7 separate regions of the Homo sapiens genome follow, and all the other regions are linked to region 4. Evidence: promoter capture Hi-C in 16 types of primary human blood cells and fetal thymus (Javierre and others, 2016). All regions are on one chromosome and are shown on one strand. Each heading gives the region's core, a stretch centred on a gene start or on the middle of the fragment in contact. The rest is flanking DNA. Distances are from core to core; before and after follow the strand shown.

What was found. The method cuts DNA at HindIII sites, captures the fragments that hold promoters and counts their contacts. A CHiCAGO score of 5 or more calls a contact.
Region 1: a fragment that was not itself captured here is called in contact with the fragment with the promoter of COMMD2 in region 4 in 2 of 17 cell types (total CD4 T cells and activated CD4 T cells); the score reaches 6.0 in total CD4 T cells.
Region 2: a fragment that was not itself captured here is called in contact with the fragment with the promoter of COMMD2 in region 4 in 2 of 17 cell types (fetal thymus and naive CD4 T cells); the score reaches 7.8 in fetal thymus.
Region 3: a contact is called between a fragment that was not itself captured here and the fragment with the promoter of COMMD2 in region 4, in 2 of 17 cell types (naive B cells and naive CD4 T cells). The highest score is 5.8, in naive B cells.
Region 5: a fragment that was not itself captured here is called in contact with the fragment with the promoter of COMMD2 in region 4 in 2 of 17 cell types (fetal thymus and naive CD4 T cells); the score reaches 6.3 in fetal thymus.
Region 6: a contact is called between a fragment that was not itself captured here and the fragment with the promoter of COMMD2 in region 4, in 6 of 17 cell types (naive CD8 T cells, activated CD4 T cells, non-activated CD4 T cells and 3 more). The highest score is 11.0, in naive CD8 T cells.
Region 7: the fragment with the promoter of HLTF-AS1 here is called in contact with the fragment with the promoter of COMMD2 in region 4 in 9 of 17 cell types (naive CD8 T cells, activated CD4 T cells, total CD8 T cells and 6 more); the score reaches 19.6 in naive CD8 T cells.

What each region holds. Positions count from the first base shown.
Region 1 is chr3:149,043,043-149,046,453 of GRCh38, reverse strand. It overlaps HLTF (helicase like transcription factor), which reads left to right. Exons shown (of 25, transcript NM_003071.4): 18 at 195-374. Among named protein-coding and RNA genes, the nearest start is that of HLTF-AS1, 42 kb to the left of the region's middle. The HindIII fragment of the contact is 1,405 bases long and covers 595-1,999 here.
Region 2 is chr3:148,948,930-148,952,653 of GRCh38, reverse strand. The region is part of intron 2 of LOC107986045 (a long non-coding RNA gene); the gene reads right to left. Among named protein-coding and RNA genes, the nearest start is that of GYG1, 41 kb to the left of the region's middle. The HindIII fragment of the contact is 6,256 bases long and covers 1-3,724 here.
Region 3 is chr3:150,542,821-150,546,190 of GRCh38, reverse strand. It overlaps SERP1 (stress associated endoplasmic reticulum protein 1), which reads left to right. Exons shown (of 3, transcript NM_014445.4): 1 at 1-139; 2 at 413-488; 3 at 1,693-3,370. The coding sequence starts at 56. The coding sequence ends at 1,733. Among named protein-coding and RNA genes, the nearest start is that of SERP1, 2.0 kb to the left of the region's middle. RefSeq lists enhancers at 1-108, 1-184. The HindIII fragment of the contact is 410 bases long and covers 1,253-1,662 here.
Region 4 is chr3:149,751,239-149,754,661 of GRCh38, reverse strand. COMMD2 (COMM domain containing 2) reads left to right here and starts at 2,173. Exons shown (of 5, transcript NM_016094.4): 1 at 2,173-2,284; 2 at 2,375-2,452; 3 at 3,177-3,259. The coding sequence starts at 2,218. RefSeq lists a silencer at 1,948-2,017. The HindIII fragment of the contact is 1,089 bases long and covers 1,557-2,645 here.
Region 5 is chr3:149,105,631-149,109,211 of GRCh38, reverse strand. No RefSeq gene overlaps it. Among named protein-coding and RNA genes, the nearest start is that of HLTF, 21 kb to the right of the region's middle. The HindIII fragment of the contact is 2,641 bases long and covers 387-3,027 here.
Region 6 is chr3:148,982,269-148,985,980 of GRCh38, reverse strand. It overlaps the pseudogene UBQLN4P1. Among named protein-coding and RNA genes, the nearest start is that of GYG1, 7.4 kb to the left of the region's middle. The HindIII fragment of the contact is 9,960 bases long and covers 1-3,712 here.
Region 7 is chr3:149,084,922-149,088,509 of GRCh38, reverse strand. It overlaps HLTF-AS1 (HLTF antisense RNA 1), which reads right to left and starts at 2,178. Exons shown (of 3, transcript NR_046648.1): 1 at 2,032-2,178. It overlaps HLTF (helicase like transcription factor), which reads left to right and starts at 1,977. Exons shown (of 25, transcript NM_003071.4): 1 at 1,977-2,193. The coding sequence starts at 2,174. RefSeq lists enhancers at 1,615-2,132, 2,018-2,227, 2,133-2,650. The HindIII fragment of the contact is 6,248 bases long and covers 1-3,588 here.

The DNA of each region.
Region 1 (3,411 bases), core at 48-2,547, 710 kb after region 4:
TTGTTTTAATAATTTTATTTTTGTAGAATACTTCTGTGATTATCAGATTGGTTAAAATCCCAAATAAGGGATTTTAAAAACACTTTTACAGAAGCTATAAAACAGTAACAAATTAAAATGTTCTGTTTCGTTCTTCTTGGATCAATTTATGTAGAAATTAAAAGTTACATAATTATTTGTTTTATTCTGATTAGGCGTTTACAGTCCCTAATTAAAAATATTACACTTAGAAGAACAAAGACAAGCAAAATTAAAGGAAAACCTGTTTTGGAGTTACCAGAACGTAAAGTATTTATTCAGCACATTACACTTTCAGATGAAGAGAGAAAGATTTATCAGTCTGTGAAAAATGAAGGCAGAGCCACTATTGGAAGGTATGGAGAAAGAAAACCATGTTAAAAATTAGTTTTTGTTTACTTTGTTTCCCATTCACTGAATGACATTATTTAGATGTGTTAGCAATAGTTTGAAGTATACTGAAAGATAATTTGCTTCTATGAATTACAGTGTTTTTTACAAATCAATAAAGTGAATGAAATAATAGTATAATTCACCAGGTAAGTAATTTTTTAAGTTAGGAAATAATTTAAAGCTTACTTTAAATGACAAGTTCTCAATTGCTAGCCAGAAGATTTTGCTTGCTTCTATTTCCAAAATCGTATGGAAATCTGGAAATAGGAACTGATGAAATAGGTTTAACAAGAAGATTAAGGATTGGTAGAAGGTATGAAATTCTGGTCCAAGCAAGATCAGGTTTAATGTGAGCCCACAGGGAACAGAATGAATAAGAGACAAGTGAAAGCAGAATAGGACTGTGAAAGGGGAATCTTCAAAACATAAAAACTTCAGTGAGGTAGGTACAAAGCAGGTTTGATAGGAATTAGAGAGAGTGGGAAAGATTGTTCTAAGCAGCAGATTTCTGAGTTCAAAATCTTCTTTCTTTTCATATTCTTTCAACAAAAATTTATTAAGTGCCCACTGTGTGCCAGGCACTTATACCCATTGGGATACAGCAGAATAAAACAGACAAAAATGCCTGCACTCGAGGAATTTATATTTTAATGGGAAGAAACAGATAATTTAAAAACATGATTAAGTTTTAAGGAATAAAGCAACGAAAGGGGATGGGGAATGCCAAAGCTGTTTTAGTAGGGTATTAAGGAAGACCTCACTGAGAAGATGATATATAGGTAAAGATCTAAAGGAGATTGGGATTAAGGGGTGTTTCAGCCAGAAGGAAGAGCAAGTGTAGATGCTCCCAGTTGGGAACATGCCTGGTGAGCTTGAAGAATAACAGAGAAGCAAGTGTGGCTGGATAGTATGAACGAGAGAAAATAGTCATGATATCAGAGATTTATTGGAATGGGGGTATGTAACGCATATGTCAAGGACTTTGGCTTTTACTTTTTATGACAGGAAACCTTAAAGGGTTTTGAGCCAGGAGAGGGACGTAATCTGATTTATATTTTTAAAAGATCACTCTGGCTGCTGTGCTCAGATTTAGGTTATTTGAATAGGAATAAGGTCAGAAGTAGGGAGACCAGTGGCAGTCAAAGCAAGAGATGATGGTGGTTTTTACCATAGTAGTGATAAAGGGAGTGAGAAATGATTAGATTCTGTTAAATTGTGAACGTAGAACCAACAGAACTTGCTGGTTGATATGTTATGGCATGTGAAAGAGGAATCAAAGATAACTTCAAGCCTTTTTACCTGCATAAGTGGAAGGCTGGAATTGCTGTTTACCAAGACAGGTCTATGGGAAGAGCAGAGATTTTTTTAAGCTAAGATCAGAAGCTCAGTTTTGGACACATTGATCATAGGATGCCCGTGAATTTTCCAAGTAGAGATATCAAATAATTAGTTGGATAGGAGAGTCGAGTTCAAAGTCAGCTATGTGTGGATGGTAATTAAAGCCATGAGATCACCAAGGGAGTGAGTAAAGTGAAAGAGATCTAACTGTGAAGATAGCAATGGCTGGTGAAATAGGAGGAAGGAAGCTTCTAATATTTAGCACATGGTAGGCACTCAAAAGAGATCTCTTAAATTGAAATGCTGAGTATCAGTAAGATATGACCATGCCAGGGAATAATTAGTGTTAGTAAAGGTTATTCTATTTGAAAAAGTTGAAAAAGATTAACTTTATTGAAACTGTTCTCAGAAAATAAGTTATTTTTAAAGTATTCTTTTTAATAGGCTATATATTTACTAACATTTATTTAGCACTCACTAGGTGTTATACATTGATCTTAGTGCTTTAAATGTATTCACAGCAATCCTATTAGGTCAGTATAATTATCCACATCTTATAAGTGAGGAAACTGAGGCACAGAGCAGTTTAGGTGACTTACACTGTTGTCACACAGCTAGTGAGTGACAGGACAGATTAACTCTGGCACTTTGGTTTAGAGCTTGTAAGTTTAATCTTTGTATTATTTTGCCTATTCCTTGCATTCTTGAATATTCAGAAATGTTTGTTGCCATAATACTACCAGTACTAATACTAGCAACAGATTCATGTATAGCACTTAATATAGTCCAGGCACTATTTTAAATACTTTACATGTATTAAATTAAATAACAGTAGTTGTATGAGGTAGGTACTTTTACAATGCCACTGTTAGAACTGAGGAAGCTCAAGACATAGGTTAAGCAACCTGTCCAAGGTTACATAATTAAATTGGCACAGCCAGGTTTTGAATTCATGACCAGCTAGCTCTAAAAATTTGTACTCTTAGCCGTTAGGCTATATTTCTTCTGTTGCCTTAAAATACTTAAATATCAGATGGCCTGGTTATATAATTTTTGGATCACCCATTTCCTTAAGAATCTATGTTGTCATTGTACCACTGTATTTTGTATAGAATGTTTCTGTGGGGAAGCCTGGTTTTTTTTTTTTTTTTTTTTTTCCCTCTGAAGTTCAGCAACTTCTTTGTTGACTTTCCCCTGGGACATGTGATATTATTTAAATCTTTAGATTCCAGGCTTTTCCCCCCTTCTCTTTCCTGGAAAGCTTTCTTTAAATATTGTTTTCTGTTCCATTATTTTATTTCTCTCTGTGTATGTTAGATGTCTTTTATCTGTGTTCCATAGGTATCATTTTATTTCTGATCTTTTACATTTTTTTGTTTAATTTTGATTTTCTCAGTCCTGTTTCCTACATCCTTTTCTATGTTTTTATCAGTGACTAGTCTTTTTTTATATTGGCTTATATTGGTTTCAGTGTGACTTTCATTTCTCTGATGATTCACTGTTTTCTTTCACTTTCTTGAGCCATACCAGCTCATCTTTCATCTCTTCCTGTTCTCTTGCCATATTTTTTCAAAGCTCTTTGTCTTTGCTTTAAGATTTTTTTTTTTTGGAGGAATTGTTTTATTGAGTGGTGTTAAATTGTGACAGTATCCTTGGTCATAA
Region 2 (3,724 bases), core at 331-2,830, 800 kb after region 4:
ATTACCAAAAGCCTTCAAACTGTGGTCTCACTTTGACCTATCAATCTCACCTCTAGAAATTTATCCTAAGGAAATAACTATGGATGTACACAAAATCATAGATACAGAGATGTTCACATTGTTATGGGCTGAACTGGGTCTCCCGAAATTCATATATTGAAGTCCTGACTCCCAGTAGTGGAGAATGTGACTGTATTTGGAGATAGGACTTCTAAAGAGGAAATTGAGGTAAAATGAAGTCCAATGGGTGGGTCCTAATTCAGTATGACAGGTAACCTTATAAGAAGAGGCAATTAGGACATAGACATACGCAGAAGAAAGACCATGTGAAGACACTGGAGGAAGAAAGCCATCTACAAGTCAAGGAGAGAGGCCTCAGAATGAAATCAATCCTGCTGACATTTTGATTTGGGACTTCTGGCCTCTAGAATTGTGAGAAAAGAAATTTCTCTTATTTAAGCCATGCAGTCTGTGGTATTTTGTTACAGCAGCCTTAGCAAACTAATACACACACACACACACACACACACGCACACATACACACACAAAGGAAAACATGTTAAATGTTGAGCAATGGGGGATTAATGAAACACGTTTTGGCTCATCTGCATGATGGAGCTCCATTCCTACATTTAAAGTGATGCTGATGAACACTGTCATGGAAAGCTACTGATGCTATGTCATTATATAAAGCATATTATCCAATAGTATGTATAGCATAATATTTTATTTGTATGTGTGTGTATATATATAAAGTAAATATTAGTTTGGTCTGAGTGGTGATACATTCCTTTATTTGTTTAGGAAAGTAAAAATTTGTGCTGCTGGCTGCTGGATCATGACGTTCCCAAGTGAACACTAACAATGCTTACAGAATATAAACAATGTTCAGACAAGGCCACTCTGTGACTATGTTTGGAACAAGATAAAGATGAGGCCACTCTATAACCATAAAAATGACTAGATACATTCTTCTTTTAACAGAAGTGACTGCTATTTTCTTTCTTTTTAAATGAATGACAACTCTTACCCACTTTAGATTTTTTCCTTGCTAAGATAAAAATTTTTTCCTTGCTAAGATAAAAATTGTACCTTCATTTTGACAGAATCTCATCCAGATTTGATCCCTACTTTCCTAATTTCTCCTTAAATTTATCCATTAAATTCCCAGATCTTATAAGAAGCCCTCTCAACTCCCTCTTATCAAGAGGCTCCAGAAATCTGGTGGTTTAGGTCAATGGGCCTTAACAATTCCAAATTAGATCAATTTGTCCCCTCCCACCGACCACAACTAGCAGGACATTCCATCTCAGTTGAGTTTTAGGAGGCTCTTCTTGATTTATAAAGCTGTTGAGGATTTTAGGATGTTCATTGCCCTTTTTAAGAGGGCAGCTTCCTTTCCTCTACCAAGCTGGGCACGGGAATTTTTTGTTGTGTGCCAAGGCCAAAAACCTGGGGTTCAGTCCAGGTCACTGCTTGAGGACTGTTTGGGAGTGGGGCATAGATCTTCACCATTTCTTGAACCCAATGCCACTGGTCTCCTCCTTGGCAAAACTTCTGTCCTCCTGGCTTAGGCCTCCACTCTCAGGACTAGTCTCTTTCTGGGTGGATAGAGTGTTAGCTTTCTAGCACCTCCTGGCTTCTGGTTTGTAGCTCTGCAACTATACTTATTAACAAGTGGCTGAGGCTAGGAAGCTCAGACTTAGAACACGAAATTTGCTTGGGAGTGAGGGAGGAAAAAGCATCTCTCCTTCTTTTACAGTGGTGCATTCAGCACATACCATTTTCTAAATAACACTCTGACTCATATTCTAGAAAGGGTTTTGATATATGTCCTGCAGTGTTAAAAGTGGTATTATGGGCCTTTAAAGTGTTTACTTTTGTTACTTATTTTTACTTTCTAAATTTTCTTTCGTTGAACATTTGCTTCCAAAATCAGAAAAGTCATTTATTTTAGCTAATAAAATAACGAAACAGAATAAGAAGAAAGGAAGAATGAAATAAGTAAAACAAGCCTGTCAGTAGTGGATGTATAGACATATTGATGTAGTATGAATTTAGGACAGCCTGAAAATTGGCTTTCTCTCAGTGCATAAAGGCTGGCCCTATGGAAGTGGTAGGAGGAATGAGGTTCATTGTTGAGGAGAAATGTCTTTTGAAAGGGAAATGACATAATGGCTTTTACCCCTAGCTCATATTAGAATTACTCGATACCCAGGCCCCACCCCCAGTGATTTATGTGATTACTGTTTAAAGGAAGGAGAACATGGATGAGGAATGAGGCCCTCAATACAAAACTTCCCTATTTACATTTTTCCTTAGAGCCATCTTTGGAGGAAAGGTGGGATCAGATTATTCCCTTTTATTAGTGTTTTCTCAGATATTGTAAGGCTACCCCATTGATGTAAAAACTATGTTTACTGTTACAGGGAAGAACATTTGAAAGCAATTTTTACTTGTACATTTTATTGTATTGTATGTTAGAAAAATATGGCCGGGCAAGGTGGCTCAAGCCTGTAATCCCAACACTTTGGGAGGCCGAGGCGGGCGGATCACGAGGTCAGGAAATTGAGACCATCCTGGCTAACATGGTGAAACCCCATCTGTACTAAAAATACAAAAAAATTAGTTGTGTGTGGTGGCGGGCACCTGTAGTCCCAGCTACTTGGGAGGCTGAGGCAGGAAAATGGCGTGAACCCAGGAGGCGGAGCTTGCAGTGAGCCGAGATCGCACCACTGCACCACTGCACTCCAGCCTGGGCAACAGAGTGGGACTCCGTCTCAAAATAAATAAATAAATAAATAAAAAATATATATATACACCAAAGTCGTGATTTCATGGCAATGATATAGTTTTTAAACAACTAAGTTCATTTATGCAAAAATATAAGCCAACTGGCATACACATATTAGGTAAATTACAGTAGAGGTGGTACACAGATATGACAAGAATCAAGACGGTATGCAAGACTTTAGGCTGGTAAACACTGGTAGAAGTTGTTTTATCAAATCTTTCTGAAAGAGGTGAGAAATTCAGAGCAATTCTGAGATGAGAAAGAGGTGCAATTCAGAGCAGTGCTTTCAAACACTGGACTGAAAAATATGTGGGGCTGGCTGAGAGCTTGTGGAAAATAGAGATTCTAGGTTCCTGCCTAGAGACTTCAGCTCAGGAGATCTATGAAAGATATCCGGTCACTCTGTTGCAATCAGGTGTGGGAACCTTGCAGATGGGAGTCATACTTCCTTGGGCTCGAAGACCAGTAGTTCTTGGTAATTAAACTTATTTTAAATATTTGCTGTCTGTGAAGTCTTTTAACTGTTGTTGATTGTTGCAGTATGGCTTTGAAAACTTCTAATTTTTAAACTGGGCCTCTGGGTCTCAAAACTGGGTTCATGTGTGTAAATTAAAATACACACAAGTGAGCACACTATATCCCGGCCAAATACACATTTTAATTTGATTTAACCAATAAAACAAACGGGAATGAATTATACCATTAGGCTCAACAGGGCTGCCAGAGCAAACCAACAGCGTGATGCAGACCAGGCATGGGAGTCATAAAGTGCACGCTTCTAGTGGAATGGAAGATGCTCGAGTGGGAGCTGTTTCATGGCAAATTAATGTTTACTCGGTGAGTTTCAGAGGAATCATTGTGAGACAGCTGGAAGAAAGGCCCTGTATGGGAGGACTCTGAGATGGAAACCCTGTGTTGGGGCCTCAAGAA
Region 3 (3,370 bases), core at 208-2,707, 790 kb before region 4:
GCAGGCGAGTGAGCGAGTCCGAGGGGTGGCCGGGGCAGGTGGTGGCGCCGCGAAGATGGTCGCCAAGCAAAGGATCCGTATGGCCAACGAGAAGCACAGCAAGAACATCACCCAGCGCGGCAACGTCGCCAAGACCTCGGTAAGGAAAGAGCGGGCGCCCCTCTGCGTTCCGCAGCCGGAGCTGAGTCCGGGTCCCTGGGGCCGCGTCGCGTTTTCTCCCGGATCCGGCCGACCGTGGGCTGGTGCCGTGGAGGGGTAGGGGCCCGAGTCTGCGAACCGCCAGACTGTGGGGGCTCGGGAACGGAAGGGGAGACCTGTGAGGTGAGGGGGCCGGCGACCGGCGTGCAGGCGTGGGAGCCTGGGGTCCGAGTGGTTTCTCTGCATCTGAAATGGTGGATTTTCGCTTTTGCAGAGAAATGCCCCCGAAGAGAAGGCGTCTGTAGGACCCTGGTTATTGGCTCTCTTCATTTTTGTTGTCTGTGGTTCTGGTAAGTGGCTTGGGGGCTCCCATCAGGTAGAGTCTTGGGTTGAAAGGATTTGGGATGACGTGGTGACCGGTCAGTAGTGAGTCCTACCTGCGTAGTTCTCAACCCACCTGCCGAGGACTCCACATAATTCTGTTTCGTCTGAACCAAATTACTTGTTCCACATATGCACAGAGGGTGGTGCTCCAGAAACTTCTCCCAGCTTAATTTGTACTCACAGGAGATCAAAAAGGAGGTCAGGTCTTGGTAATGATCCAGTTGGAATAAATGTTAAGACCGGACAAAACCTAACGAAATGAGAATTTAGAATGTTTTGTAACTCCATTATCAGTCTTTGCAAAGAAAATTATAAATATGTACTATAGATGTTAGAACTTGATTTAACATATACCAGAATCTAATGTCTTAATGTCAAAATTGAGTATATTTTATAAAATAAAGCTTGTGCAAAGAATTGATTCACTATAGAGGAAATTACCTGATTGGCATTTTAATGTGTGAGTCAAATGTTTTTAGGTTAATAAAAGAAACGTTTGATACATGGTTTAAAAAAAAAGTGTCGGGGTAGCCTGCTGTCCCCTAAGAGTAACAGACACTTGCCTTTGCAAATAGATTACAAAAAAAAGGTCTTTCCTCTCTTCATTTATCATTTTAATATGCAAGCTGTTAATATTGAAGTAGATGTTTGTTTTCCACATTCTAAAATTACTGAGATTTCTGTTTAACGTTTCACTTTGCCTTTCTTCTTCACTTACCAATTGGAAGCTTTCCTGATAAATGGATGAGAGCCAAGCAGTTTATATAACCTGAAGATGATTGAATTTCAGCTTTGTGAGAATGAGGAAACATGCATGTGTTACAGGCCAGGCCTTAAAAGGATGCTTATAAACCAAAATAATTCTATGCTGGAAAAACCTGTTGGCTTTGGTGCTTTAAGTTCTTTGTAAAATGATTACTTATCTGCAAGTTCTCTTGGATACTTAGACATAAAGTTCAGCGAAGCTAAGATAAAAAAATAACTCAGGGATATTTCATTGTTTTATTTATTCAGACAGGCCTGTCTTCACTTCTTATTATACTGAAGTTATGTACCATTTGCAAATGTAAGAGTACCTTTGGATTCTTCAGCTACCTTAATAAATATTTGTTAGACACCAGACCTATTTTATTCAAAGCTTATTTTAATATTTGCTCTTTCTTTTTACAGCAATTTTCCAGATTATTCAAAGTATCAGGATGGGCATGTGAAGTGACTGACCTTAAGATGTTTCCATTCTCCTGTGAATTTTAACTTGAACTCATTCCTGATGTTTGATACCCTGGTTGAAAACAATTCAGTAAAGCATCCTGCCTCAGAATGACTTTCCTATCATGCTTCATGTGTCATTCCAAGGTTTCTTCATGAGTCATTCCAAGTTTTCTAGTCCATACCACAGTGCCTTGCAAAAAACACCACATGAATAAAGCAATAAAATTTGATTGTTAAGATACAGTAGTGGACCCTACTTATTCAGTCAATTAAGAGTAAGTTTTTTTATGTGGTTATTAAAACAGTATGAACAATTAGTCTAACTCTGCATAGACAGGGTCTAGATTTTGTTAACCCAAATGTATAACTGCAGTTAGCTTAAATTACAATTTGAAGTCTTGTGGTTTTTATATAGCTAGGCACTTTATTACTCTTTTGAACTGAAAGCACACTCCCTTATAGGTTCATGTAACTGTCCTGTAATAAGGTGCTTATAAATGGAACAACTACACAGCCTAGTTTTGCCACAACCTTTAGCATCTAAAAAGTTTTAAAAGCTTCTAAATGTCTAATATAAAGGGAGATGCTTATAGCCACAACATCTATTTTACCAATATTGTTTCCATTACACTACCTTGGATTTTGCATGAGTGAGTATAGTAACCCAAGATGCCATAAAAAAAAAACTTGATCGTTTTCTGACTTAATCAGTTACTGTGGTTTCACTAAAAGCTACCGTGGTGGAGTGAAGTCAGTCAGGGAAGGTTTGTTTATGTTACATTTATTTCACCAGAACTATTTTAATATATCAAAGGGGTTTACTATGCCAAACAAAATTCTAGGGAAAAATACTGCTAAAAATGGATGCCTCATCAGAACATGCTGTTGAGTCCAATGTGCCATAAGACATTTTAGCATGTTAAATAGCACTTTTAATAGCAAAAAAAGGCACATCAACTGCGAAGTTATCCTTAGTTTGCAAATGCTTTTTCTAGATTAATGATTTTTCAATCATTAGGGTACTAGACACATCAGCCTAAAGTGGCATCTGGAATTGAATGGATTTACTGATAATGATCAGTCTTTAGTCTTCCCTTTGTTATATGACTTTATAGGTTATGATTGATCAAATTTACGTTTTACTAATGGTAAGGGTGAGGGTCATAGGGCAGGTTTTGGGTTTTCTAGTACTGTTGAAAACTGCAAGTATTGGCTATTTGTATACTTAGCCATAACTTGGTGAAAAAAAACCTGAGCAGTGTCTATGTATTAATGCGTTGGAAAGAAAGCTGCTTGTGTTTGCTTTGTTAATTGCCTCAGGATATTTCTTTTAAAATAAGCTGTTTTAAGAGGAACAGAAGGGAAATCTGCTACCTAGTCTATACACAGCGTGAACCTCACAGGGGGCTTCTGATACCCTCAAACATGGAGAACAGTAAGGGAGCAGAGTGGTTAAGGACTTTCAGGAACTTAACTATTCTGGAATAAGGAATGAATCAACTGACCTTGGGCCAGCAGGTTTTTAACTAAATTGTTACTTGCCTTTCTCACCCAGTTAATCAGTCTCTGTACTTGTTTCCCTTTTTGAAACAAGTGTCTTGGTTAACTAATTCTGTTTTATGGTTGTGCTAAATTC
Region 4 (3,423 bases), core at 924-3,423:
GGTTTTTCTTGGATATAACTTGGTTTCTTTCTTTTTTTTTTTTTTGACAGTGTCTGACTCTGTCACCCAGGCTGGAGTGCAGTGACTCAAATCTTGCTCACTGCAACCTCTGCCTCGCAGGTTCAAGCAATTTTCATGCCTTGGGCTACCAAGTAGCTGGGACCACAGGTACATGCCACCAAGCTTTGCTAATTTTTGTATTTTTAGTAGAGATGGGGTTTTACCATGTTGGTCAGGCTAGACTTGAATTTCTGGCCTCAAGTGATCCTCCCGCCTTGGCCTTCCAAAGTGCTGGGTTTACAGGCATCAGCCACCATACCTGGCCTAACTTGGTTCCTTGACCACCTTTTTTAGACAGCCTATTGTGCTACTCCCTAGTCTCACCTTCACCTCGCCTGTCCTCACTTCATTCCCTGAGATTACAGACAAGAAAGGCCATTTCATATTGGCATAATATTGTGTCTATTTGCAAATTCATTTCAGCATTCCTACTCCCTATATATGTACAGTTCTTGAATACCTCTTTTGAATCAGTTGAAACTGGTTTTTACTGTAATCTCTCATTAATTACAGAATGCTGTAATTCTCTCATTAATTAACTAGTTCAATACATTTTTTGACATGTGTTCATTGTACACTTGTAGAAGAATCATGATTTTACCTTTTCTGAAAATTATTCTTTAATAATGGATGTTTTCTCAATAATGTGTGAATAAAGGCAACTTCAGGAAATGATGCAATTTTTGCTAATCTGCAATTCACAGTCTAAGTAAAAGTTGTGTTCTCTCTGCAAATGCTACTTCAAGAACTAACTAATAAGTTCAAGGACCTGTCTTTCTGTGTCCCAGTGGAAGAAACAATTTCAGTCAGATGTGAAGGACAAAGTAGACACAGAGAAGTGAATTGAAAAACTCTTCCAATTTTTAGTCTGCCTGGGAGACTCAGAATATAGAGTTGTCTCAAGCCTTAGATAGAAAAGACAGATATGAAGAGTCTTCTTCCCTTCCCCTCTCTTCCTCCACACCCTCCATTTTCAAGGGGTTAAGATTTGAAGAATCATATTCCTATCAATTAGCAACTTTATCATCTCTGATATTTGAACCACAGCAGGTGAGAAGAGAGTTGGAAAAGGAACTAAATTATCACAGGCGCTAAATACTTTTTAAAAGGCATTGCTCTGGGCCAGGTGTGGTGGTTCATGCTTGTAATCCCAGCACTTTGGGAGGCCAAGTTGGCTGGATGACTTGAGGTCAGGAGTTCAAGACCAGCCTGGCCAACATGGTGAAAACCCGTCTCTACTAAAAATACAAACATTAGCCAGGCATGGTGGTGGGCGCTTGTAATACCAGCTACTCGGGAGGCTGAGGCAGGAGAATCGCTTGAACCCGGGAGGCAGAGGTTGCAGTGAGCCGGGCGACAGAGCGAGACTCCATGTAAAAAACAAAACAAAACAAAACAAACAAACAAAAACATTGCTCTGAATCCTGTAAGCATCGGTCATTGTCATCATTATCTTTATCCTAATTTATAATCACTCATAAAACTTGTCAGAAGCTTTCAGCTTTCAGGCTGTTATGTAGAAGGATGGGCTTTGCAGCAGGTAAGTGAGGGATCCAACCCTCTCCATCTAACTCTGTCACAGGCTTTGTCACATAATCTCTGGAGCTTTGTGTCTTATCTGTAAAAACAAAGCCATGTTTGTTGAGGATATTAACTGAGATACATTTAAGATAACATAGAAGCTCTGGAAACTATTAGCTTTATAAAAGTGTCAGTTGCTGGACTTGTCTATCAGTTTCCTTATCTCTAATGGAAATTATAATGGAACCTACCTCATAGGGTTCTTCTGAACTCCAAATGTATTTAATAAATGTAAGAACACTTCCTGACACGGTTAGTGCTTAACAAATGTGAACTATTGATATTATTAATGTATGCTCCACGAGGGGGCGTGTCGGATTTGAAACACCTTTTCATCTCCCATAGAGCCTAGCACCTTGCACCCAGCAGGCGCTCACTGCATCTTTGCGGGATGATTTCAATGTTCTGACCTCAGCCTGCGCTGCAGGGAACGTCCGAGTGTAACGCGTTAGTTCGTAGGCCGGAACCCAAAGCTCCGGACGCTGCGACGCCGGAGCCTCTAGGCGCCGGGACACGGGCGCCGGAAGTGGCGAAGGCGGGGTCGGCGCTGCCGGGTGAAATCGTAGGACAGTGAAGATGCTGCTGGAATTGTCCGAGGAGCATAAGGAACACCTGGCCTTCCTGCCTCAAGTGGACAGCGCGGGTCAGCGGGCGTGGGGGCGGTGTTCTGTGGGCTGGGGAGGAGGTCAAAGGCAGCGCCTGGCACTCAACAGCCTTCTGACTTTCATTGCAGTGGTCGCCGAGTTTGGGCGGATTGCTGTGGAATTCCTGAGACGCGGCGCAAACCCAAAAATCTACGAAGGCGCCGCCAGTAAGAAGGGAAAGGGGAAGGCTCCGCAGGCTTCTAGGGCGGTTGCGAGCCATTCCCTGTCTCCCGGGAGAGAAACGGATTATTGCGAGTCCTAGGGTCTTGTTCCGATTGTAGTAGAATAAAACCAGCAGAGCTCTTCAGTCAGGGTGCAAATCCTGCCCGTCCCTTAAGTAGCTGTGAGATTGTTAAAGCTTCTATTAAATCAGTTTTCTCATGGTAAAATGTACATAATACCACCTTACTTTCAGAAATACTGAAAAGTGTTTTGTATAAATATACCAAAGTCTGTGGAATAGCTGGGTCAACTGTAAATTGCAAGTATTTGGTTATCATTATTAGTTGTTCAGATATCCGCTTTTGCTAAAAAAAAAAAAAAAAGTGTTGTTTTACCCCTGGGTAAGAGGCAGTCTCTGGGATTAAGTCAATCCCTGTCGAGTTCCTCTTCTGCCAGACTTGAAGGAGCTACGTATTCAAGAGAAGGGCTACGCACCTGATACTAGTCTCCACAGTTCTGCATTTTGTTAAGGTTACTTGGTGGGAAATACCAAAGGCATTTGGCTGGGAGTGGAATGACAAGGAGCAGGAGCCTCTGGCCAACTTACTGTTTTTCATGCAGTGTTTGAAAACATGTAATAATGAATAGTGTTTATTTTTAAATACAAATATGAACAAGATAAATACTACAGTAGTAATTTATTTGCTCGTTTTTACTTTTCTTTCTCAGGAAAACTCAATGTGAGTAGTGACACTGTCCAGCATGGTGTGGAAGGATTAACGTATCTCCTCACTGAGAGCTCAAAGCTCATGGTAAGGGATTTTCTGGACTGTTTTGTGTTGGCTGGATTCTTAAGAACGGTCTGGTGTACTCTACATCATAGTCCTGGCAGGTACCTGTGTGTTTTAATAATGTTGTTAATGGTTTATAATTGATTTTTTGAAGACATACCTAAAAAATAAAAATCATATCATCT
Region 5 (3,581 bases), core at 458-2,957, 640 kb after region 4:
ATCTCGGCTCACTGCAACCTCCATCTCCCGGGTTCAAGTGATTCTCCTGCCTCAGCCTCCCAAGTAGCTGGGATTACAGGCATGCACCACCATGCCTGGCTAATTTTGTATTCTTAGTAGAGACAGGGTGTCACCATGTTGGTCAGGCTAGTCTTGAACTCCACATCTCAGGTGATCTGCCCGCCTCTGCCTCCCAAAGTGTTGGAATTACAGGCATGAGCCACTGTGCCCAGCCAGCCTTGTTCTTAAAGAATTCCATTGACCAGGATTTCTCTGTAATTGCTTTAGTTGCATTAACCATTATTAAAATTAAGTGACAGTCACTTCAATTAAGTAGTAATTTTTTTTTTAAGGGGAGACTTTCTAGTGATCTTTGATCCTAAGCTTTTTATCACTGTTAGGGCTTCATGTGTGTACTTGAAAATAAAATATGTACAAATGTTAAATTGGTTTGAAGATTTTAGTGGTGAAAGTTACCTAATCAGTTGTTAGTACTATATCTACAAACCAATCTTGGAAATGCATGATGATGCTCGTTGAAATAGCTGAAAATAAATTATTGTGTGCTTGTTCTTACTTTGTGCCTGTTTTGTAGTACAGAATTTAAGGGAAGGGAGATAATTTATCTTCATACTGAGTTTCCAGAACTGATATTTGCATTTGCTTTTTATTTTTATTTTTTATTTTTAATGATGGAGAGAAAGGTTAGCTGTTTTACTTTGGTGAGTTGGCATAGGACCTATCACTTTTTGATGCTTTTGGTCATAGATCTATCACAGAATGCTAGCAATTAGACACATGCCATGAGTAATCTAACTACTTTAATACGGTGGTTGGAAGTGGTGCAGGCAGTAACTCCTATACACCAAATTATAGTGTTTTAATTTGTAACATGTTAGAGAGAGTGATAGGAATTTCTGCAGTATAAATATCCTGTTAACTAATGCTTGTGCTGTTAAGGGCTTTGACTCCTGGATCTGAAGAAGGCACTTACCCCTTTAAATTTTGAGCATTGACACCAATTGAACTATCGTCTTCAGATGCAAGAGAAGGCAACAATCAAAATTAACTGCTTTCATGAGACACAGGGCTGGAAATTAAAACTAAGCAATCCCTCTAGGCCCAGGGACTATAGTGGAAGAGGTGGGCGCGTGAGATTGTAAGTGCTGATTTTGAATAATAAGATTAGAGTGTTTCTGTAAATTAAACATTAATATCAAAAGCATACTGATGCAAGCCAGCATCTGGGACTGTGTGTCAGAATAACAGGGTTTTCTTGGAGCATTAATCAGTTATTTAATAAAAAATTGTAAAAGGTTATAAAAAGTTTATGGAGGCCAGGCGCGGTGGCTCACGCCTGTAATCCCAGCACTTTGGAAGGCCAAGGCGGGCGGATCACGAGGTCAGGAGATCGAGACCCTGGTGAAACCCTGTCTCTACTAAAAATACAAAAAATTACCCAGGTGCTGTGGCGGGCGCCTGTAGTCCCAGCTACTTGGGAGGCTGAGGCAGGAGAATGGCATCAACCCGGGAGGCAGAGCTTGCAGTGAGCCGAGATTGCACCATTGCACTCCAGCCTGGGTGACAGAGCAAGACTCTGTCTCAAAAAAAAAAAAAAAGTTTATGGAAATCTTACTTTATGGTCAAACTGATTAAAATTAGATAGATTTGTTTATAAGGTTTTATTTAAATCAGCTTTAGTATTAATAATATACCATACAAATGTAAAATTTGGTTTTCTCTTTTAAACAACATTTTCACGTAAGAGATCTTAAGAGATTTGTGTTTACCTTTTAAGTAAACTGCAGGAAAAAAAATGGACGGGGGGAGACACATTTAGTTGGCTTCGTGTTGAGTTTATTAGGTGTTATTGTTTGGGAAACTGAGTCTGTCTATCAAAGAGTAAATATTTTTGTTTTATCATTTCAGCTAGATGAATGACTATTTCATAATGACCTATGATCCTATTTTGTGATATGAAGTGTCTTAAACCTTTGACAGACTCCAAGAGTGGAATTTCAGGTTTTAAATTCAATCTTTTTGACCTTAAACAAACTTTTTTGGATATTAGGTTCCCTGAAGTCACCTGTCTCTCTCCAAGAGAGATATATTAGGCTTATTTGTTCTGTTAGAATTATTCAGGAAGCATTGTCAAATCTGAGGTGATAGTTAGCTTCCTTTGGGTCATATTTCTAGATGTGTTGCCAATGTATTCCAGGATTGTATGAGACTCCTAAAATTCTGGTATGTCTTAATATATGTTGTCAGTAATAATTATGATTATTAAATTGTTGTACGCCATGGAAATAACCAAATTATCTTGTCAACTGTGTCTTTATGGCCATGCTAAGTTTTGCCATCTACAATTGTTGTTTTGCTTTGATCCTTCTCAAAAAGTGACTTATAATTAGCTACAGTCCAGGGCTTGCTTCTTTGGGGGAGTTCATGAAAGGACTCTGAGTGCAGGTTTCTGATAACTTTGGAGATTGTGCCATTACATTAGAAAGAAAACTTCCAGGGCACTAATTGAAAGGCTGGTATGTTCATAAAGATTGCTAACCCATTATGAAGCAGAGCAAGAGTTAACTGTATGGACTGAACTAATGGAGGACTGAAATAATTTTTATGGCTTTTTTTGTTTGAAATATTGCTGATTCTTTTTGTTTTTTTCAGAGTCTGGAGAAATTTTTTTGTTTTGAGCTATTTGTAGCCTAAATATACTGAGTAGAATATACTTTTGTAAACAGACTTTGAGGCATATTTCTCTTTCTGCCTAATTTCTCCAGAATTTGTAAACTGTTTGTGAATATTCTTAATTCATGGCAATGTGGTTGTTTGCATGTGGTTAATAAGAACCTGTTTTCTTTTCTAATGACACACAGGTGGAGGAACTTGTTATTTTCCCAGAATTTTGACTGAAATGGCCTTGTGAGAGGTTCCAGCAAAGCCAGTTTAGGAGGCCCTATATGGACAATGATTCTTGCTGTATTTGTGGGGGTAACCAGGCCAAGTATAGTAACAGAAGCTTATTTTGCAAGTAGGTTGGTATTGCTGTGACTTGTTTTTGGTGGAAGTGGGGAACTGGAGAGAGAAAGATTGTGTTTCAGAAAAAAACTATAGTATTAGATTAACCTTGGATTCCTAGCTGGCCATGTGGTCACCCAAGATATGGAGCCACAGTTCCCCTCCTCAGCAGCCAGAAAGATCAATGACCAGATTCCCCATAATAAAGGAACTGATAAATAGAATGCAGGGATTGAGACCAATCCAATAGCCCAATAGATTTTTTTTTTTGGATAAATGTAGAAACTGGTCCTTCTGGTCTTAAAGCTTGAAACATGTATTTGTTTTTCTCTGAGTTCCTTCCTCAGGAAGAAAGACCCCCAGATCTCTCAAAAAGTATCGAAGAACTGAAACCAGATCCCCACATGCAGACAGTGAGAAGCCAGACCCTTCATTTTGTATCTTTACCCCTTTCTAGTTTCTGTTTTCTAACACACTGTTACATTTATTTCCTGCTATATAAACTCCTAATTGTATTGGTAAGGGAGATGGATTTGAGACTGATCTCCCATCTCTTC
Region 6 (3,712 bases), core at 220-2,719, 770 kb after region 4:
CTGGAGCAGCTCAACTCCATGGGCTTCATCAATCGTGAGGCCAACCTGCAGGCCCTGATTGCCACAGGAGGGGACATCAACGCAGCTATCGAGAGACTGCTGGGCTCCCAGCTCTCCTAATCCCTCGTCCCATGCCTCCTGCCTCTCCCCTCCCTCGATGTCAGCATTCGGTTCTTCTGTCAATCCTTACCCTCTGCAGCTTGTCATCCCTTCCGTCTTCTCCCTCATCCTTTCCAAACAGCAGGGTGACTTTAGAGACATGGGCTCCAACCCCTTAGCTCTGTCTGAGAATTATGGTTTTACTGCTACGTCTCTAACAGAATCTTCTCTCCTGGTCTCCTTGAGCAGTGCTACTTAAACAGTTTTCACAGTTTCATTGATTGACTCTACCTCCTTGCCCCACACCACTTTTGCAATCTTTAAACTTTCAGTGGCTGTGCAGAGTCGAGGGAGGAACCAGCTCTCTGGTTTACTGGAACATAGTCTTCCATCTATACCACTAGGGTTTTGTCTTATGTTTACTTTTGGTAACTCTCTTCCTTCTTTTTCTCCCTACCCCCCAACCCCTAGCCCAACCAATGCTAGAATTTCTCGCTCTGAAGGAGGAGCAGGTGAAACAGGTGGTAATTTTCCTCCTCGGCCCCTATTCTGGTTCATTCAGCACTTTTTGGTGGGAACTGTTGGAAATTCCAGGGTAAGGAGGAAGACGCCTGTTCTCCCTGTCTGAAGAGGGAGATGAGAGAGCTCTCTGGACAGGAATTAACAAACCCTGGAGCAGCTCAGAGGAAATTGATGTGAAAGAGGAGGGAATGAGATTATTCGGAGGAGGGGAATGGGGGAGACAGCCTGAGTAAAAGGCTTGGAAGTTGGAATTAACAGTGGGGAGCAGAAGCACTCGTAGCTCTTTTAGGCAGAAGAATCCAGGCCCAAGCTGGCAGAAGAGACTTAGAGATGCTAATGGAATTTAAACTGAAGAAAGGAGCTCAATGAAGCTAAGCGCCACGCCCCACAAGGGGTCATATTGGCTTTAGTTCCTCAAGCACATGTGCTTATATGCACACACACACACATTTCCATGGACCCAGGTCTTGCTTGTGTCCCCAGGCACCAGTAATTTGAGCCCCCCTCAAAAGACATGAAGGGGGTTGGGGTCTGTGTGAGTAGTGGGGAGGTGCATGTGTATCCACATGTGTGCATACACTCTTAAGTTGGGTGGGAAGTGGATTCCTTGTTGGTTTCTGGTTCAGAGTGCTCTCCCACCACCAGAGACAAGTGGGTAAAAAGGTCAGTCCATTGCAGGAATATATATCTGGGAGAGCTAGGTCCCTTGGAGCTCTGGATGCTGGGTAACCCAGAGGTAATGTGGGTACCCTTTCTGAAGCTGTCAGGGCTGTGACTAGCACCCTTATCACCCCTCACTGCCTTGTGGGAATAGTAGAGGGTTTTTTTCCTCCAGAGCCCCTGGCCTTTCAGTTCTTAACTATTTCCCTCCAGGCCAGAAAGTTTTCTTTGAGGAAGGAGAGGAGAGGGTGGCAATGATGCCTTTGATCTGGAATTGGACATTGCTCTGTCAGAGCACAGAGGAGGCTCATATCACCTCTTCCCTCTCCTACTTGGCCCAGCTGCTTGGAGGACCGACCCCATGGCTGAGAATATGACGGCAAGAGGAACAGAGTTTGCTCCAAGTGGGAAAGGGTCCCAAGCAGTCCAGAGAAGATGTCTGTGTGGCTTTCCCTCCCTGCCTCCCCCAGCTCCCACACTGGCCTTTGTAAATAAATGGCGTGGTCTTTGTTGTGAAAAAAAAAATTCATTTCTTTTTTATTGCCAAATAATATTTCATTATGGGTATACCACATTTTGTTTATCCATTCATTATGGATGAACATGTTGGTGGACATTTGGGTAGTTTCCACTCTGGCTGGTATGAATAATGCTGCTGTGAACATTTGTGTTCAAATTTTTGCATTGACATATTTTTTTTCCTAAATATATACAAAGAGTAGAATTGCTAGATCATGTGGTAATTCTATGTTTAACATTTTAGGAACTGCCAGACTGTTTTCCAGAACATCTGTATCATTTTTCATTTCCACCAGCAATGTATGATGGTTCAAATTTCTTCGTTTCTTAGCCAACATTTGTTGTTGTCTGAAGTGATATCTCGTTGTGATTCTTATTTGCATTTCTCTAGTGACTTTTGATATTGATTATCTTTTCATGTGCTTACTAACCATGTGTACAACTTCTTTGGAGAAATGTCTATTCAAACCCTTTGCTCACTTTTTAATTGGGTTTACTTTGTTATTGAGTTGTAAAATTTCTTTGTCTAGACGCAAATCTTTTATCAGCTATATGATTTGCAAATATATTCTCTCATTCTGCGAGTTAACTTTTCATATTCTTGGTAGTATTGTTTGTAGCATAGAAGTTTTAAATTTTGATATAGTCCAATTTATTTTTCTTCTGTTGCTTCTGTTTTTGGTGTCATACCTAGGAAACTATTGCCTAACCAAAAGTCATGAAGATTTACTCCTATGTTTTCTTCAGGAGTTTTGTAGTTTTAGCTTTTAAAATTATGTCCATAGTCCATTTTGAGTTAATTTTTGTTAAGTTTTTTATGTTGTGAAGTAGGAGTTCAGGTTTTTTCTTTTGTGTGTGAACATTGAGTTGTTCCAATACCATCTGTTGAAAAGACTATTCTTTTCCCACTGAATTGTCTTGGCACGATTATGAAAAATCAATTGATCATAAATGTGACTAAATTCAATTTCTGGAATCAATTCTATTTCATTGATTTATATGTCAATCCTAATGTTAGTTCCACACCATCTTGATTTCTGTAGCTTTCTAGTAACTTTGAAATTTGGAAATGTGAACGAATTTTGTTCTTCTGAGGGCCGGGCACCGTGGTTCACACCTGTAATCCTAGCATTTTGGGAGGCTGAGATGGGTGGATAACCTGAGGTCAGGAGTTTGAGACCAGCCTGCCAAAATGGCGAAACACCGTCGCTACTAAAAATATAAAAATTAGCCGGGTGTGGTGGCTACTCTGGAGGCTGAGGCAAGAAGAGAATCACTGAACCCAGGAGGCAGAGGTTGCAGTGAGCCGAGATCGTGCCACTGCACTCCAGCCTGGGTGACAGAGCAAGACCCCATTTCAAAAAAAATTTTTTTAAATAAATAAATAAAAATAAAATCTTAAAAAATTTTTTCTTCTTTTTCAAGATTGTTTTGGCTATTCTGGGTAATTTGCATTTCCATATGAATTTTAGGGTCAGTTTATAAGTTTCTGAAACAAAGAAAGCTGGGCTTTTGATAAGGATTTCATTGAATTTGTAGATCAGTTTGGGGAGTATTGCCAACTTAACAGCTTAAACCTGCTTTTTTTTTTTTTTGAGACAGAGTCTTGTTCTGTCACCCAGGCTAGAGTGCAGTGGCGCGATCTTGGCCCACTGCAACCTCTGCCTCCCAGGTTCAGGTAATTCTCCCTGCCTCAGCTTCCCAAGTAGCTGGGATTACAGGCACCTGGCACCATGCCCAGCTAATTTTTGTATTTTTAGTAGAGACAGGGTTTCACCATGCTGGCCAGGCTGGTCTTGAACTCCTGACCTCAGGTGATCCACCTGCCTTGAACTCTCAAAGTGCTGGGATTACAGGCATGAGCCACCGTGCCCAGCCTTACAGCTTATGCCTTCTAATCCATGAACATGGG
Region 7 (3,588 bases), core at 929-3,428, 670 kb after region 4:
TCAGGCTGGAGTGCAGTGGCTTGATCTCGGCTCACTGCAACCCATGTCTCCCTGGTTCAAGCGATTCTCCTGCCTCAGCCTCCCAAGTAGCTAGGACTACAGGTGCGTGCCACCACGTCTGCTTAATTTTTGTATTTTCTTAGTAGAGTCAGGCTTTCACCATGTTGGCCAGGCTGGTCTCGAACTCCTGACCTCAGGTGATCCACCCAACTCGGCCTCCCAAAGTGCTGGGATTATAGGTGTGAGCCATTGCGCCTGGCCAGTCTTAAGTCTGAAAGAGCTATGTTCTCATATTTGGAATTTTTTCTTTGTCTAGTGAGCATGACTTTCTTACTCTTACAAAACATCAATTTGAGCAATTTCTGGCATATTTTCCAAGAATTTATTTAAAATCTGGCATACTAAAAGCTGAACTGTATTGCCATTTGCCTCAACACACTTCAAGAAGAACATACAACAATTAAAATAATTTGAAATGCCATTGTCTTTATCTTCCTCATCAACTTTGGTCAAATGAAATAATACATTGTTTCAAATTCTATTGCTCATCCATGGTTCATGATTAGAGATCACTACAGTTTATTTACGATAATGAACAAATGTGTCTTGAAAAGCTGACTACCGGCCTGGCACGGTGGCTCATGCCTGTAATCCCAGCACTCTGGGAGGCCGAGGCGGGCGGATCACCTGAGGTCAGGAGTTCAAGACCAGCCTGGCCAATATGGTGAAACCCCGTCTCTACTAAAAATACAAAAATTAGCTGGGCGTGGTGGCGGGCTCCTGCAATCCCGGCTACTCCGGAGGCTGAGGCAGGAGAATCGCTTGAATCCGGGAGGCGGAGGTTGCAGTGAGCCAAGATCACCCCCATTGCACTCCAGCCTGGGGGACAGAGCAAGACTCCATCTCAATAAAAAAGAAAAAAAAACAAAAAAAAGAAAAAAGAAAAGCTGACCACCTAATATTATTGTGCTGACAGGCGTGTAACATGGACCTCTCTGTGACGCGCAAGTATTATCTGGCAGTTACATGGTGCCGCCTGTGCAGCTGGGCGCCACCACCAGCTTCCTGCCCTGTGCGATTAAAAGGCCAGCTTCGGGGACAGCAGCCTCCTCAACGCAAAGCGACCAGCCCTGCCAGGCGTCGGCTGCAGCTGGTCCAAGGTTGACGGTCCCAGGGCCGCATTCTCCTTCCGGTCACCTCAGACTCTGGAAAGAGAGCCATGGAGGGCCTCAGAGCGCCCCTCTGCAGTTCCTTGAGGAAAACAAGGGCCTCCCCCTCTTGGCTGGAGCAGCCAAGTGCCCACGGGGAAAATGGTCCCGTCCACCATTTCAGGCAAACGCCCCCATAGCTGTAATAAACATGTGATGGGTTTCCTGCACCAAGAAAGGAAAATTTTCCTTAAAAATAACAAAAAGAGGTGGGGAGGGGACTCTAAGTTCCATTTAAGATTTTCCAAACTCGTTGTGTCTCATGCATACGCTGAGGCTTAACATGAAAATTTGGAGCGAAAGTCCCCACGGTTCACCACAGGGAATGAAGTAAAGTATCTCGCCGGTAGCTCTAGGTCTCGTAAACCGTGGAGCTCCTTTAGTATAAGGCCCTATTATGTGCCACATTAGATGAGAAGAAAATAAGAGGAAGGATACGGTAGAGCCTTTAGAATGGGGTTCAGTCTTAGGACTCGTAGGATAAAGGAAGGTCGTTTCCCTCCGTTTGAGGCAGGGAATCAAACAAAACACCGGCACCGCAGGCACCGCAGTCGCACTCCTGGGGCCTCGTGGCTTTCCCGCGCGCCCGCCTTGGGGGCGGGGAAGAACCCGGATGGAACCACCCTTGCAGCCCGGACCCCCCGCCGTCTTTGAATGGCAGCGGGGCGGAGTTGCCCTCCCTTCTGTGCTCTGACTGGTTTGGCTCCGCACTCTCCTCTTCGTGATTGGGCTTTCCTAGTGCCAGTCACAGAGCGACGCTGGTCTCCCAGATTGTTGCAGAAGGAGACGGCGTCGACGTCTGACTGGACTCGCGGCGACTTACCTTTCAGTCGTGCGCTCCTGATCCGGCGCTCGGAATTTGTCCCCGGCTTCAGGGCTGCGGGGCCTGGAAGGAGGCGTATCGAGGCGGCTCGAAAACGATCCAGGGGAGCCGAGGCGCTCCTCTTGTCATCCCACTCAGCGCCATGTCCTGGATGTTCAAGAGGTGAAGGGGGCGGAGGGGGTGGGGCGCTCGGTCTAACGGCCTGGAGGCGTCCCCAAATGAACCTGACCTTCCCCGCGTTCCTCTGCGTTCCCTGGGCGATTTGTGCAGCTGTATTCGTTCTGTTGGTCGCATATGTGGCCGCCGGAGAAATAAATGCATTGTCTTCGCTGGCGAGTAGGGGCTCCTAGGGCGAGTCCCGTGTTAGGGACTTGGGAAATCTCTGTCACCGACTGTGGGGGGCCTGGGGCTTAAAGCATCTCGGCCAGTGCTTTATTTAACAAAACATCCATTAGATACCCACTGTGCGCCAGGCATTGTGCTCGGTGGAGGGCCGAGTAAGACAGTCCTTGTCCCCAAGTGGCTCACAGCTTATCTGTATGCACAGACGTGCAGATAAGTATTTGCAGAGGCGCTAGTAGAGATATGCGCCACTTGCAAGGAAAACGCATCGCAAATAAGCGACTGTTCTTAGGAGAATGGAAACTTTTTGCAATGCTCCAGTAGACTCCCCTTCACTTTTCATTGTCCAAATTGGTATTTATGGTCATTCCCGAAACAGTTACACCTAATGGGTTTGGGGTTATGCTTAAACCGGCGACGGAAGGCGGGTACGGGTGGCTTGGGGCCAATTTCCCACGGTGGCGTGGTTTGGATACCAGAATAGGTGTTCTGCTCGCAGGGAGTTACAGTGATGGATGCTGGATGTATTTTCTGGAAAATTATAAACAACTTCTGGTACATTAATAGTTGTATTTTTATAAGTCTTTTATATAGCTCAATCCCTATTGAAATTTTGGCATATGATTTCATTTTTTAAATTATTTTTTTGACATGGAGTCTCGCTCTGTCGTCCAGGCTGGAGTGCAGTGGCACAATCTCGGCTCGCTGCAACCTACGCCTCCCGGGTTCAAGTGATTCTCCTGCCTCAGCCTCCCGAGTAGCTGGGATTACATATGGGCGCCACCACGCCTGGCTAATTTTTGTATTTGTAGTAGACAGGGTTTCACAATGTTGGCCAGGTTGGTCTCAAATTCCTGACCTCAGGTGATCCACCTGCCTCTGCCTCCCAAAGTGCTGGGATTCCAGGCGTGAGCCACCGCATCCGGCCCATAATTGTAGTTACAGACATCATATACATATCAATTTAGATGATTTTCACTGGGAAAGAGGTTAGTGAACTCTGACTAGGCTTTTCATTTTGAATACCTAGGGGGCAGGTAGAAGAGCCAATATTGAAAACAGGTAGAGTTCCTAGAAGCCTTCTCCACTCACTGCAATTCCTGCTTTAACGAGAGTAACTATTAATCTTTACCGTGATTCCCATGTAAGATTTCATTTGCTGAAGTAAAGCATGAGAAAACTACTCATATGGTCTTTGGAAATACTTAAATATTA